Linked DNA regions of Homo sapiens: region 2 is linked to region 1. Evidence: promoter capture Hi-C in 16 types of primary human blood cells and fetal thymus (Javierre and others, 2016). All regions are on one chromosome and are shown on one strand. Each heading gives the region's core, a stretch centred on a gene start or on the middle of the fragment in contact. The rest is flanking DNA. Distances are from core to core; before and after follow the strand shown. Region 1 holds the start of SC5D (sterol-C5-desaturase). Region 2 overlaps MIR100HG (mir-100-let-7a-2-mir-125b-1 cluster host gene).

What was found. The method cuts DNA at HindIII sites, captures the fragments that hold promoters and counts their contacts. A CHiCAGO score of 5 or more calls a contact.
Region 2: a fragment that was not itself captured here is called in contact with the fragment with the promoter of SC5D in region 1 in 1 of 17 cell types (monocytes); the score reaches 5.1 in monocytes.

The regions. Positions count from the first base shown.
Region 1 is chr11:121,291,280-121,297,085 of GRCh38, reverse strand. It overlaps SC5D (sterol-C5-desaturase), which reads right to left and starts at 4,315. Exons shown (of 5, transcript NM_006918.5): 1 at 4,270-4,315. RefSeq lists enhancers at 726-1,268, 1,269-1,810, 4,524-4,573 and a silencer at 4,304-4,353. The HindIII fragment of the contact is 7,130 bases long and covers 1-5,449 here.
Region 2 is chr11:122,210,718-122,216,668 of GRCh38, reverse strand. The region is part of intron 2 of MIR100HG (mir-100-let-7a-2-mir-125b-1 cluster host gene); the gene reads left to right. Among named protein-coding and RNA genes, the nearest start is that of MIR100, 61 kb to the right of the region's middle. RefSeq lists an enhancer at 970-1,019. The HindIII fragment of the contact is 8,380 bases long and covers 1-5,951 here.

The sequences.
Region 1 (5,806 bases), core at 3,066-5,565:
TCAAACTTTCACATATTCATCAAGAAAGAAGGGCTATCTCGGGTATACTTAATTTGCATTTACCTTATTATGAGTAAAGTTGAGCATCATTCCATATATTTAGAATAATTTATATTTTTTTCTGTGTTTATCTGTTTTTATCCTTTGCCCGTTTTCCCACTGAGTTTTTAGTATCTTTATAAAAGTCAAATTCTAGAAGCTCCTTATATATTAGGGAGTTTGGCCCTTTGTTTATGATATGAATTATGAACATTTCCTCACTTTGTCAGGAAAAGAAAAATTTAATTAGCACCAAATGCCAGATATTAACATATATTCCTCATCATACATGCCATTGTTAATTCATTCAAATAAGAACTTATTGTTAAGCACCACACTAGGTAATGAGCATACAAACATTAAACAGACACAGTCTAAATCAGTCTTAAAGGTAGGGCAACTACAAAAACAATTCTAGCAATAGGACACGTGCTGCAATACAGATATATATGCAAATTCTATGAGATCAGAAAAGACAACACAACTACCTCAGCTTATGGTAAAAGGCTTCCTAGTGAATATGATATTAGATTTGGACTTTGAAGGACATCACCAGAAAGAAAAGGTTAGGGATAGCCATTCCAAAGAGAAGTCACAACTGCAAAGCAAGAGAAGAGCATGATGCATTCATGGCTCACTGCGTGTGGTTGGTGGGTGTTAGACAGGGTGATGGGGTGGAGCAGAGGGAAAAACATGTTAGGGGATGGACTTGTAAAGGAGATTTGTTAGACTACGCATGGAGGGATCTGCTGTCCTGCTGAGGAATTTGGACTTTCTCTCACACGCTATGAGGAGACACTAAAGATTTCTAGGTAGGAAAAAGATACAATCAGACCCACATTTCATAAAAACCATTCCATTAGAAATCTGGACTACTAGGCTAGGTGAAGTGGCTAATGCTTATTCCCAGCACTTTGGGAGGCTGAGGTAGGAGGACCGCTTGAAGCCAGGAGTTCGAGACCAGCCTGGGCAACACGGCAAGACTCCGTCACTATAAAAAAGGAAAGAAAAGAAATATGGGTTATCGGTGAGAAGCAGGGAGACTAGTTTGGTTGTTCCTGTGGTAGAATAACCCAGAGAAAATGATAGCCTGACCTCGGGCAGTGGCTGTTAAGACTAGCCAGCAGAGATTTCGCGCAAGTAAAAACACCCACAGGATTTGGATAACCCACGTTTGCTGGGAAGTGAAAGAGAGAGAAATCTAGGATGACTGTGAGACTTTAGCTGGTCTAAGTAGATGGTGATGTCATTGTAATTGAAATAGGGAATACTGGCAGAGCTAGCAGATTTGGGTAGGGTAGGAATAGGGGGTGGGTAAGGAATGATGGTGTGAACAGAAAATAAATCTTGGGACTCCAAAATCACTAAGCTAAGAGAAAAGTCAGGCTGGGAACTATGTTAGGCAAACCTGCCTCCCGCTTTATTCCTAAATAAGACAGCTACAAGGATGAGAAGCTACATCCCTCCCTCACAATTTGCCCTCAGAAAATTCCTTTGTGGATAAAGGACAGACAGGACTCAAAGTCATCCCTCTGAGGCTCACCTGACACAAATGGATTTCTGATTGCTTCCTCTGCCCTATTGTTTATGTAAACATGCAGATTCACTGAGCCAGACGAAATGTGTGCATTCAGTGGAAGGCTAATCAAGGACTCAAAATAATGCAACCTTTGTCTCTTATCTGCTTCTAACCTGGAAGCCCCCACTGTGAGTTGTCCCGCCTTACCAGACCCAACCAATGTACTTCTTACACATATTGATTGATGTCTCATGTCTCCCTAAAATGTATAAAAGCAAACTGTGTCCCCGACCACCTTGGGCACATATTGTCAGGGCTTCCTGAGGCTGTGTCACGGGTGAATCCTTAACCTTGGCAAAATAAACTTCCTAAATTGACTGAGACCTGTCTCAGATATCTGGGGTTCAAAACGGGTTCAATGTAGATCTTAAAACCTAATTATCTGTGGCTCATCTTCTATCTTAGATATAAGCAATAGGCCACATGTAAATATAAATGTGAAGTTCAAAAGCGAGCCTGGTTAGTATACAGGTAGTAGTTGAAGTTATAGGGGTGAAGACTGCCAAGGGAGGTGGTGTAGCAGGGACAGGGTACTACGTAATATCAGATAACATAAACATTTAATAATTGAAAAGGATATTGCTATATCACTAAAGGTTGGTAACAGCTGATGAGCCAATCTACATGTTCCCCACAGTGCCATGTGGCCCTACTTCAATACAATACCTAGAATAGTATCGTGCAACCAAAAAGAACACAAACATGTTTGATTGCTGTGAGGTTTAGAGACTAAGTAGACTTTTGACATTTGACCCAAGAAAGGTACTCAATAAAATAGCATCTATATGATTATCACTGTTAAGGCCGTCAAAAATGCGTCAAAATTACTTCAATAGAAGATAAAATAGGTGCCACTTGATTTTTGTTTGAAAAATAACTGACAGTAGTTGATAGTAATATTTAATATATACTAGGTAATATAAATATTTTAAATATATTAACTAATTTTCCCTTTCAAGAAGCCTCAAAGGTAGGTACTAGTATTATTTTATAGATGAAGAAGCTGGGCACAGAAATTTTAAGTAACTTGCATAGGGTCATAAGAGTAAATAAATGCTGGAGCTAGGATTCAAATACACACAATCTAGTTGCAAAGTACGTGAACTTCTGCCAAGTTCTATAGCCTCTTCACCACTACTTCAAGTCGTCAACTCCTGAATTTTTAAAAATGTTCAGTGCCTCTACAAGCTCATATAATTTTAAGGGGTTATAAGCCCTGAAGTTAGGGGTCCCAAGGACCCTAAATTAAGTACCACTGCTTCAAACAGAAACTTAAATACTTTGTCCTTGCAGAATTAAAGAAACTTCTTCTTAAAACTCAGTTATAATAACAATATTAGGCTTAGAACAACTCAGTCTACCATTATCTTTTTGCCCTACTTTAAAAGTATAGAAAATGATAGCTAATATTTATTGAGAACCAGGTATTATTTTTGTATAACCTCATCTAATCCCTATACCTCTATGAGATAGGTACTTCTATGCTCCCCACTTTATAGATAGGGAAACTGAGGTCAGAGTATTTAAATAACTTGTTCAGTAGCAAGCAACAATAACAGAAAAAACCAGCTGGGATGTACATTCCACAACCTTTCTCTTTGCTACCACGTTATGTTATCTCTCAAGATGTTTTATATGCAGATGAGGGATTCTGAGTACCACCCCATGCTAATTAATTACATTACATAACGAATGGAAAAGCACTCTGTAAATGATCAAGGATCAGTTATTATTTACTAGGTATCAATCATTAGAAACTTTAAAAAATGATAGTGATATAAAGACAAATAACTTCCAGAGGGTTTCCTCTAAAAGTACCGAGCTGCCACAAACTTTCCAGTTTGGAAACTCTATGTACTGAGGTCTTGTTTTCTTCACTTACACCACCTCCAAATCTACTCTGCTGTAACACAGGGATGTCAGTATACATTATTTTTCCTTTTATGATGCAAAAGGAACAGATTATTTCCCTTTTCCTTTCAGTCTCCTCAGCCCCAGATTGCTGTCCCTTCATTCTAATTACGCCGCAGCAACAGAGGCTTGCAATGGTCAGGAGTTCTGATACCGACCAGTTCTTCAGCCTGATTCTTCTGGCCTTTAAAAGAAAAAAACCCTCCCAGAACGAAGGGAAAAGTAAAGCATTCGTGTTCAGCAGCCAGACCAGAATTCCCTTGAGTAAGAGATCTGCAACACCCAACATCAAACACTGCATTTTCTTTAAGCCCGTCCACGGTCGGCTCCTTCAAGTCCAGGCCTCCCTATCGGCCCCGCGATCCCTCCCAGCGCGAGCGGAAGGCCCCTCCGCCCGGACTCCCAGGTGGCGCAGCCCTCCAGGCCCCGAGGTCCCCCGGCCCAGCCCTCGCCGCCAGTCTTCGGGATGCCAGGCTACCTGCCAGCCTCTCCTCTCACTCGGCGCAGGACTCGGATCCGTATGCTACCGCGATCCTACCATCCGCCCAACGCCTAGCACCCAGAGGGCACTCGCTAACCAACCGCGGCGCGGAGAAAAGCCGTGCTGCGAGGACACCTTCCGCCTCGCCCACCCGAGTCCCAGGCGCTGAAGTCTCTCCATCTTCTTTTATTCCATCGCCCCCCGGCCCAGCCCGCTCAGGTGTATTCCGCTTCCTTCCCCGCCCACCCACCGTCCCCACCTGGAGGTGGTCCGCCGCCGCTCCGCACGCCACTGCTCTGCAAACTGTCCTAGCAGCTGGGCAGCCAGCAAGCGGGCCGGGAGGCTGGAGCGGCCAGCCAATCAGCGACCGGCGCCATAAGCTGATATGACGGCAGATCGCGCGAAGGGCCTGCGCGCAGCTCTCCGCGGTCACGTGGGCGCCGCGCGCTCGGCCACGCCCCCTTTGTCCTCTGACTAAGGGGAGGGCGGGCGCCCCATCCGAGTACCTTTGCGGTGGAGGATGCGGTTTCGGGTTTTGCGTTTGTTTCTTTGCTTTCTTTTTAAACTAGCTCTTGTGTCATTCATGGTGGTACCAGGCAGGTTTACGGTGTTTATACAAACATTCCTAGAACGGGTGCCCTGCGTTGAGGGAAATAGACGACACTTCCTTTGACGCGAATGTCTGGGTCGTTTTCTCCCTCAAGGGAGGAGGTGCAGATGTTCCCAAACAGGTGCTCAAGGTTTTAAGACGTAGTCCCCCCGATTTTCTAGCGCTGAATGGCTGGAGGCTCCGCGAGCCGGTGTATGTAGGGGTCTAAATGGTGACAAGATGAGGGTAAACATGGACAGAAACCTTTTCACGATACAAGTTGTTGAAAACCAAGGTTAACGCAGATCTAATTGGCTTTGATTTGCTACACATGAATCGAGCAGCTCCGATTTCCTGAAACAGAGCTGAGCAGAGGAGGGTGGCTTCACAGGCAGAAGAGGACGGAGGAAAGCAGAAATAAGGAACCAAAAGATCTGTCGTTTCAGAGTGACTTTCCTTAAACAGAGATTAAAACAGAGGGGACTGACTTGTGATACCAGCTCAGCAACTTCAAAGTGGCAAACTGGGCCACTTTACCTATTACATAAATAATATGGGGAATACATGACAGAAATGAGGGATTTTTAAGGGAAAAAAATAACATGATTCGATCTGCCTTCAAAAGACTTTTCCGGTAGTTAAACTTCAAATGTACATAGGATACTGGACAAAGTTCAAATGAATTTAAAATAGTGTAGGTGGTTTTTTTAAAAAAGACTCATTATATAAATAAAAATAAATTTTAAAAAGTTTTGAGTGTCTACTTCGTTTAACACATCGTACTGAACACCGGGAATGGAAAGAGATGTTACAATAATGACAAAGACATGGTTCCCAACCTTAAAAAGCTTATGTGCTGTGGGAGAAATGGGCATGTATAAATAACTATGTTGCTTATTACAAGGACAGGAAATAAACAGTAATTGGTGGTATAGGCTGAGCACAGAGACAAAATGGCTATTCTGATGAGGGAAATTAGGGAAGGAACATTGTTTTGCCCAATGAAATGATTTGAATGGACACTTTAAAATGTTATTGAGCATAGATGATAAAACATTTATTAAACGAATAAAAGCTCAAAAGTGAAATGTTATAAGCAAACATCAAATATCCTGAATCTCTAGAATTTTATTGTTGAATATGCCTTAGCTATTACAAGTGGTCTTTATTCTTGGTGACTTAGGGATTCCCAAGAAATTTGCAATCA
Region 2 (5,951 bases), core at 1,864-4,363, 920 kb before region 1:
GAATATTGATTGAGAGCAAACACATCAAATGTTTCAATGATTTTTCAAGCAAAGCAACATTTTGCTATAGTGTATGTATATGTACTTAAGTAAACACTGAAAATGGATTTATATACATCAGAGCTTAGGCATCTACTTCCCACGAGAGAAGTAACAACATGAAAGTAAACCAAATGGAAAAATAAGTAATATTCTTTGCATTCCCTGAGATTTATCCCAAAGCCAACCCTTACTGCTTAAGTGGATGAGGGAAGATTCTCCATTGCATATCTCAGCAGTCTACTGCTTGTGCCCGTTATCTTTTGGAGGGAGGTTGTCTCGTATCTTGTGTGTAACGCTTTTATTCTAGCTTTTAGAATCAGCTGCTTAAAATTCCTCGACTTATGGTGTTAGGTAAATAGATAAGTAGGACTATGCTTTTTTGTCCCATTTTGGGCACACAAACAGAAGAACCTTGGATACTTACTGGAGGGGAACTTTCTCCCTTCTTCCCCCAGTGATATGCTTTGGAGGAGAACTTATGCAGAGATTGGGGCAACAAGAAGGTGCCTTCTACTAGCTTTAAGAAGGAGATAACATTTCCATTTTTTGTTTAAAAATGTTGATTTTCGAGGCTTTACTAACTGTAATAGGTGAGGTTTTTGTTGTGAATATTCTGTTTGCGTTTTGTTGCTGGAGGGAAGGAGAGGCTATTTGGAGAATGATACCTGGCTCATCAGCTGCCCTAAGGGTTCAAAGTGACTTGAGCCTTTCCTCTCCAGGAGCTCTTATATTGCTCCTGAACTTAATGTTATGTGTTGTCTTTCTCTTTCATTTTCTTTGCACATTTCCTAAAGTTCTGAAGTCCTTGACCATCGAAGGATTTTACCTAGATCTCTGACGACCTACCTTGGCTTTTCTTTACCGGAGAATTGCCCATCTATGGTTCTTTGCTCCATCTGTGCAATTTGCCCTTTTCAGGACTTGAGGACAACATGGTCGCCTTTGCCTTGCTTGGCTGTGGTTTGGGGTGGCATTAACACCATGATTTCTTTCAGGGCCCACTGAAGGTTGGTTTCTGCGCTCCTGCGCCACCTGCTGTCACCAGCTCCAAGTGCAGGCTCCCCAGTCGCCAGCCCTGGGCTCCCGGCCCCAGCCAGAGTCCAAACCTCAGACCAACCAGATGTTACTTAGGCTGCCAGATTTCTGTCTGGGCCTTATCTGTACCGTCTTCACTGGCTCACTAGATCAGAATCCCAAATGTCCCTGGATGACTTGCCTCAAGTCACGCAGACCCTGAGCTCTTTGGCCAGAAAGAGGAAGCCTGTTTGATTGGGGGTTGCTGACCAGTGGCTCCTGCCAGCTTTCTGAATGTGTGGCCAGTGGAGGCCGGCCTCTCCTTAGCAGTGAAAATGCAAATGGATTTCTTTAGAAATGTCAACAGACACTTGACACTTATCCTTTAAGGTACTCCCCAACGTGTCTCCTGACTGGGCCAAATTTAGTTTCTCCCAAATTGCTCAGAAATGGAATGTTTGCTTTTTACTTTTTAGCACTCTGGGCTTTTCTACAAACTCATAAAAGTTGGTGATTCTAACCAAGGGATCACAAGAAAGTGGGGTGCTACTTTTTATGAATTAAATTCAGTACCCCCATTATTCTCTGTTTTAGGTTGAAGATCTCTTGATGTCAGGGACTTATGCATTTGCTCCCTCTCCATCACACACAGCCTGGCACACAGTAGGTGCTTCACACAATCTTGTTAAAAGGAGCAGACTCTATCTGGTCAAAATCATTCTTGGAAGTTCTTTTCTATTTGTTTGTTAAAAGGAAAAATGGCCAGAGTTGAGACTGTGAAAGTTCATTCCTGATTTCAGACCAAAAAAAATAAAGCTGAACCTGAGAGAAAAACAATGATGAGTGCAAGTTGTGATTTCTATGATCACTCTGATAAGAATGAGGATCGTGACCGGCTGTGGTCTCCCAAGGTTTGAAAAAAGAGAAATATATGCATGCAGGAGAGAACTGAGTTAGATATGAGATAGAACTTCCTAAGAGCAGAGGTTATGGGATACCCTTATAAAATACAAATGGGGGTTTATGCTAGCAAATACTCTAGAGAGAGATACACATCCATGTAGTTCAATAAACACTTATTAAATTCCTGCATTATGCCAGCACTGTATTAGATACTGGAGTAAAAAAGATTGTAAAGTATAGTACCTGGTCACCAAGAAGACAGAGACTAACAAGCAGACAATTTCAATATAATTTCCTGATTGCTAAGAGAGAAGTATATGTGCCCAGGGTGTTGTGGGAGAATATGAAAGTGCACTAATTCAAGCTGTGTAGTCAGGGAAGGCTTCCTGGAGGAGGTAGTGCTTCTACTGAGTCTTACTATTGGGTGAGAGATATCTAGAGAAATAAATGCAGTCAGCATATTCCAGCAAAGGTGGAAAGCTAGATTAGCTGATGTACAAACATCTTCAGGTCACAGAAACTCCTTTTAGTCCTTCTGAATTGAGTCATCTGGGAAATGCTGTTGTCCCACAAGAAATGTCTTACAATTCTGGCAGCCTAAAGGGGCTCAGTTTTCTATTGCATGTTCAGCTTGTCACCTTGTTAGGACAGCCTCTTATAGACTTAGGAGGGAAAGAGTAAAAGAGGGAATCTTATTTTCATTTGCATCCAAGGATCATGATCCATTAAGCAGCCTCTGTGCTCTAACATTCAGGGAGCTGCAGGACTGGCATATCCTTGATGCATCAGATCTGATATATTTGTGTTCAAAGGGAACAAACCAACTACTACTGATAAGTTCTCTCACAGCAGCTACTTTTTGAGTTCCAACAGGTTGTTGTACCTAGCCCCATTGTACAGGTGGGGAAACTGAGGCTGAGGGGCACAGAGTCACTTTCTAGGCCCTGGGGAATAACTATTGGCTACTGCATAGTAATTTAGCTTCTTATTTCTCACTGTACCTTCCCAGGGTGGGAACCTCTGAGAGTCAATTTTCCCAGAAAGAGGCACTTTCGAAATGGCAGGCCTGTTAGTAATGGCCTGTTTCCACTGGGTATCCTGCCCATTGGGCTGGCACTATGGGAGTGGGGGTTCCCAGCCACCCCAGGGAGGTCATTCAATCCCAGCCATGGCAGCTGGTGTCCTTGGTGCCCTGGACCACCATCAGAGAACGGAATCTGCGGGAAAACAAAGAGTGCAGCCGTGGCGGCAGACCTGAGCCCTCCACGCCTGCTTGCCCAGGGCAGGTCCCAGTGGGGTTAGTGCCAGGGGCTGTGCTGATTCTCCACCCCCTTCCCGGCCCCTCGGCTCATCTGCTGGCTTTCAGAACTCCAGCCATCCTGAATGGGTCTTTGTGCGCACCCCAGGAGCTGGCTCGGAAGAGCCTGATGGAAATGCTGGACAGAGACATCTCCTCTGGATCCAGGCACAGCCCGTCATGGTGCCATCTTGCGGGAGTCAGGCTTTTATTGTTTCACCACGTTGCTCTATCTGGGAGTGGGTTGGGACCTGGTGAATGGGAGAAATATTCTGCACCCCTGACAGTGGGGTCATGGGTAGGGCCGAGGGGATGGCAGCACCTCTGTCACTTTCCCACAGCTCTCTTTCCCACGGTCAGTCTTTGCTACTTTGCCCCCCTGAGATGATTGTGATAATATTAATAACAAGAGGCATCGTTAATGGTCACTCCCGAGGTGCCAGGCATTGTGCTGAGGGTTTCATTCCATTGAATACGTGTTCTCAAAGATCCTGTGGGATGTGTTGTCTTATTATTCTCATTTTACAGGTGAAGAAACCAAGGTTAGGAGATGTTAAGCTACCTGCCCAGGTAATTCTGAACAGGAAGATGAGCACAGATTGGATGCAACTCTGCCCTTACCTCCTCCTTCCAGCCTTCAAGGTGTCTCTTTCCAATCATTGAGGTCCTAAGGCCACTTGTACTCTCATTCCTAAGAAATCCCTGAGCTCCAGGGCGCCAGCACAGACAAAAGCCTGGTTCTGGCAAAATGTGAAAAGCCTCGTGGCCTCTCAGATTCCTTTTTTTAATGCTGTGCTTTTTTTTTTTTTTTCTGAAATCAGGGGTGTATTTTATTTTATAAGATAGAAGAAATTGTAGATGTATAAGGAACACGTTGGAGTACAACTATAGATTGAAAATTGTGTTAAAGGACCTTATCTCCATCCTCAAAAAACAAAATGGTTTTATGAGACAAGCAAGTACCACATAAGGGCTGGAGTGCAGGATGCATTTCAGATGTCAGTGGTCCCAGCTCTGTCACCGCCGGCACTGCTCTGGCCAGGCGTCCTCTGTAGATGCAGGGATGAGGGTTAATTCCAGGTGTCTGACTCTGAGGCTCTCTTTGGCTGGGTTGGAGAGTAGGCAGAAATCTTGTTTTTATTTTTTTAATAGACAGAAGCAGTGGTGATAATGGCATCTACTCACCTGCCTGGCTTCTCTTCTATGTATGACAAGAGTGTCATTTAGGAAGGGTGATTGATATAGCTCTCTTATGGAGCAAACTCGATGACCCTTTTAGGGGAATGAAGTTTTAACCATGACTTTTAGAGCAGCTCTGTTAGCTGAGCCAAACAGCCAACTGGGAAGGGCTGTGAGTATCTCTCTGTTTGGAAAAAGGCTATAAATAATCTATGGTAAACAAATAAACAAAAACACCAGAAGAAACACAGGTTAGATCTTCAGAAGAACTTCCTAGCTGTGCAGTGTGGTAAGACATCAGGCAAAATTGTAAGTTGTGCCCCAGAATTTGCTGAGCTCCCCTCCCCTCCCCTCCCCTCCTGTCCCCTCTCCTCCCCTTCCCTCCCCTTCCCTCCCCTTCCCTCCCCTTCCCTCCCCTTCCCTTCCCTTCCCTTCCCTTCCCTTCCCTTCCCTTCCCTTCCCTTCTTCTCCTCATCTTTTTTTGAAAGAAAGTTAGCTTCTAACTCTCTAGGCTGTTATCTGTATAGCCCATACCATTCCCAAGTTAGAGGAATGACCATTGACTATCATAGGCCTCATATAGAGAACCTTTATATCCATCATTAACACATGACAAAGACACTCTCTAGAATTTGAATCCTCAACATTGTGTGTGGTATAGTGTGTTATTCCCCTCAGTGTGAAAAGTTAATGTCCATTCCTAGCCACTACTGCATTCAACCCCAGAAATATCAATGCTCTAATGATGGGTAAACTGTCTGAGTTGTTTTTTCTATTAATTATTCTCCAAGTTGCTTTCTACAGTCTTTTTTTTTTTTTTTTTTTTTTTGAGATGGAATCTCTCTCTGTTGCCCAGGCTGGAGTGGTGCAGTCTTGGTTCACTGCAACTTCCACCTCCCGAGTTCAAGTGATTCTCCTGCCTCAGCCTCTCGAGTAGCTGGGATTACAGGCACACACCACCATGCCTGGCTAATTTTTTGTATTTTTAGTAGAGATGGGGTTTCACCATGTTGGCTAGGCTGGTCTCGAACTCTTGACCTCAGGTGATCCGCCCACCTCGGCCTCCCAAAGTGCTGGGATTACAGGCGTGAGCCACTGCACCTGTCCTCTACAATCTTTACACTGCTCTCTGATATCCAAGGATCTTTACCAGAGCATATTTCTTCATTAGACTATTGCTATCATCGTGGATTATTATTACAACTTGATTGTGGTGATATATAATAAATGTTTTATGATTTGAGGAAGGGAAGTATAAGTGCAGCAGAGAAATACCCATCACCATCAAGATAATAGTCTGTAGAGGGTTAAGGTCCTAAGACGTATGGTGTTGAACAAACAAAAATCATAAACAGCCATTAGCCCACTTCCAACTTCAGCCCCTTTCAACTCACTATGATGTCATGCTCTGGTGTTTTTCTTGGGAGTCACTTGTTTCTTTTTTATTTGCTAGTCTCATTTCTGAGAGTGGAACTTGCTATTAAAACAAATAATAGTTAAAGATAGTAGAGTTCAA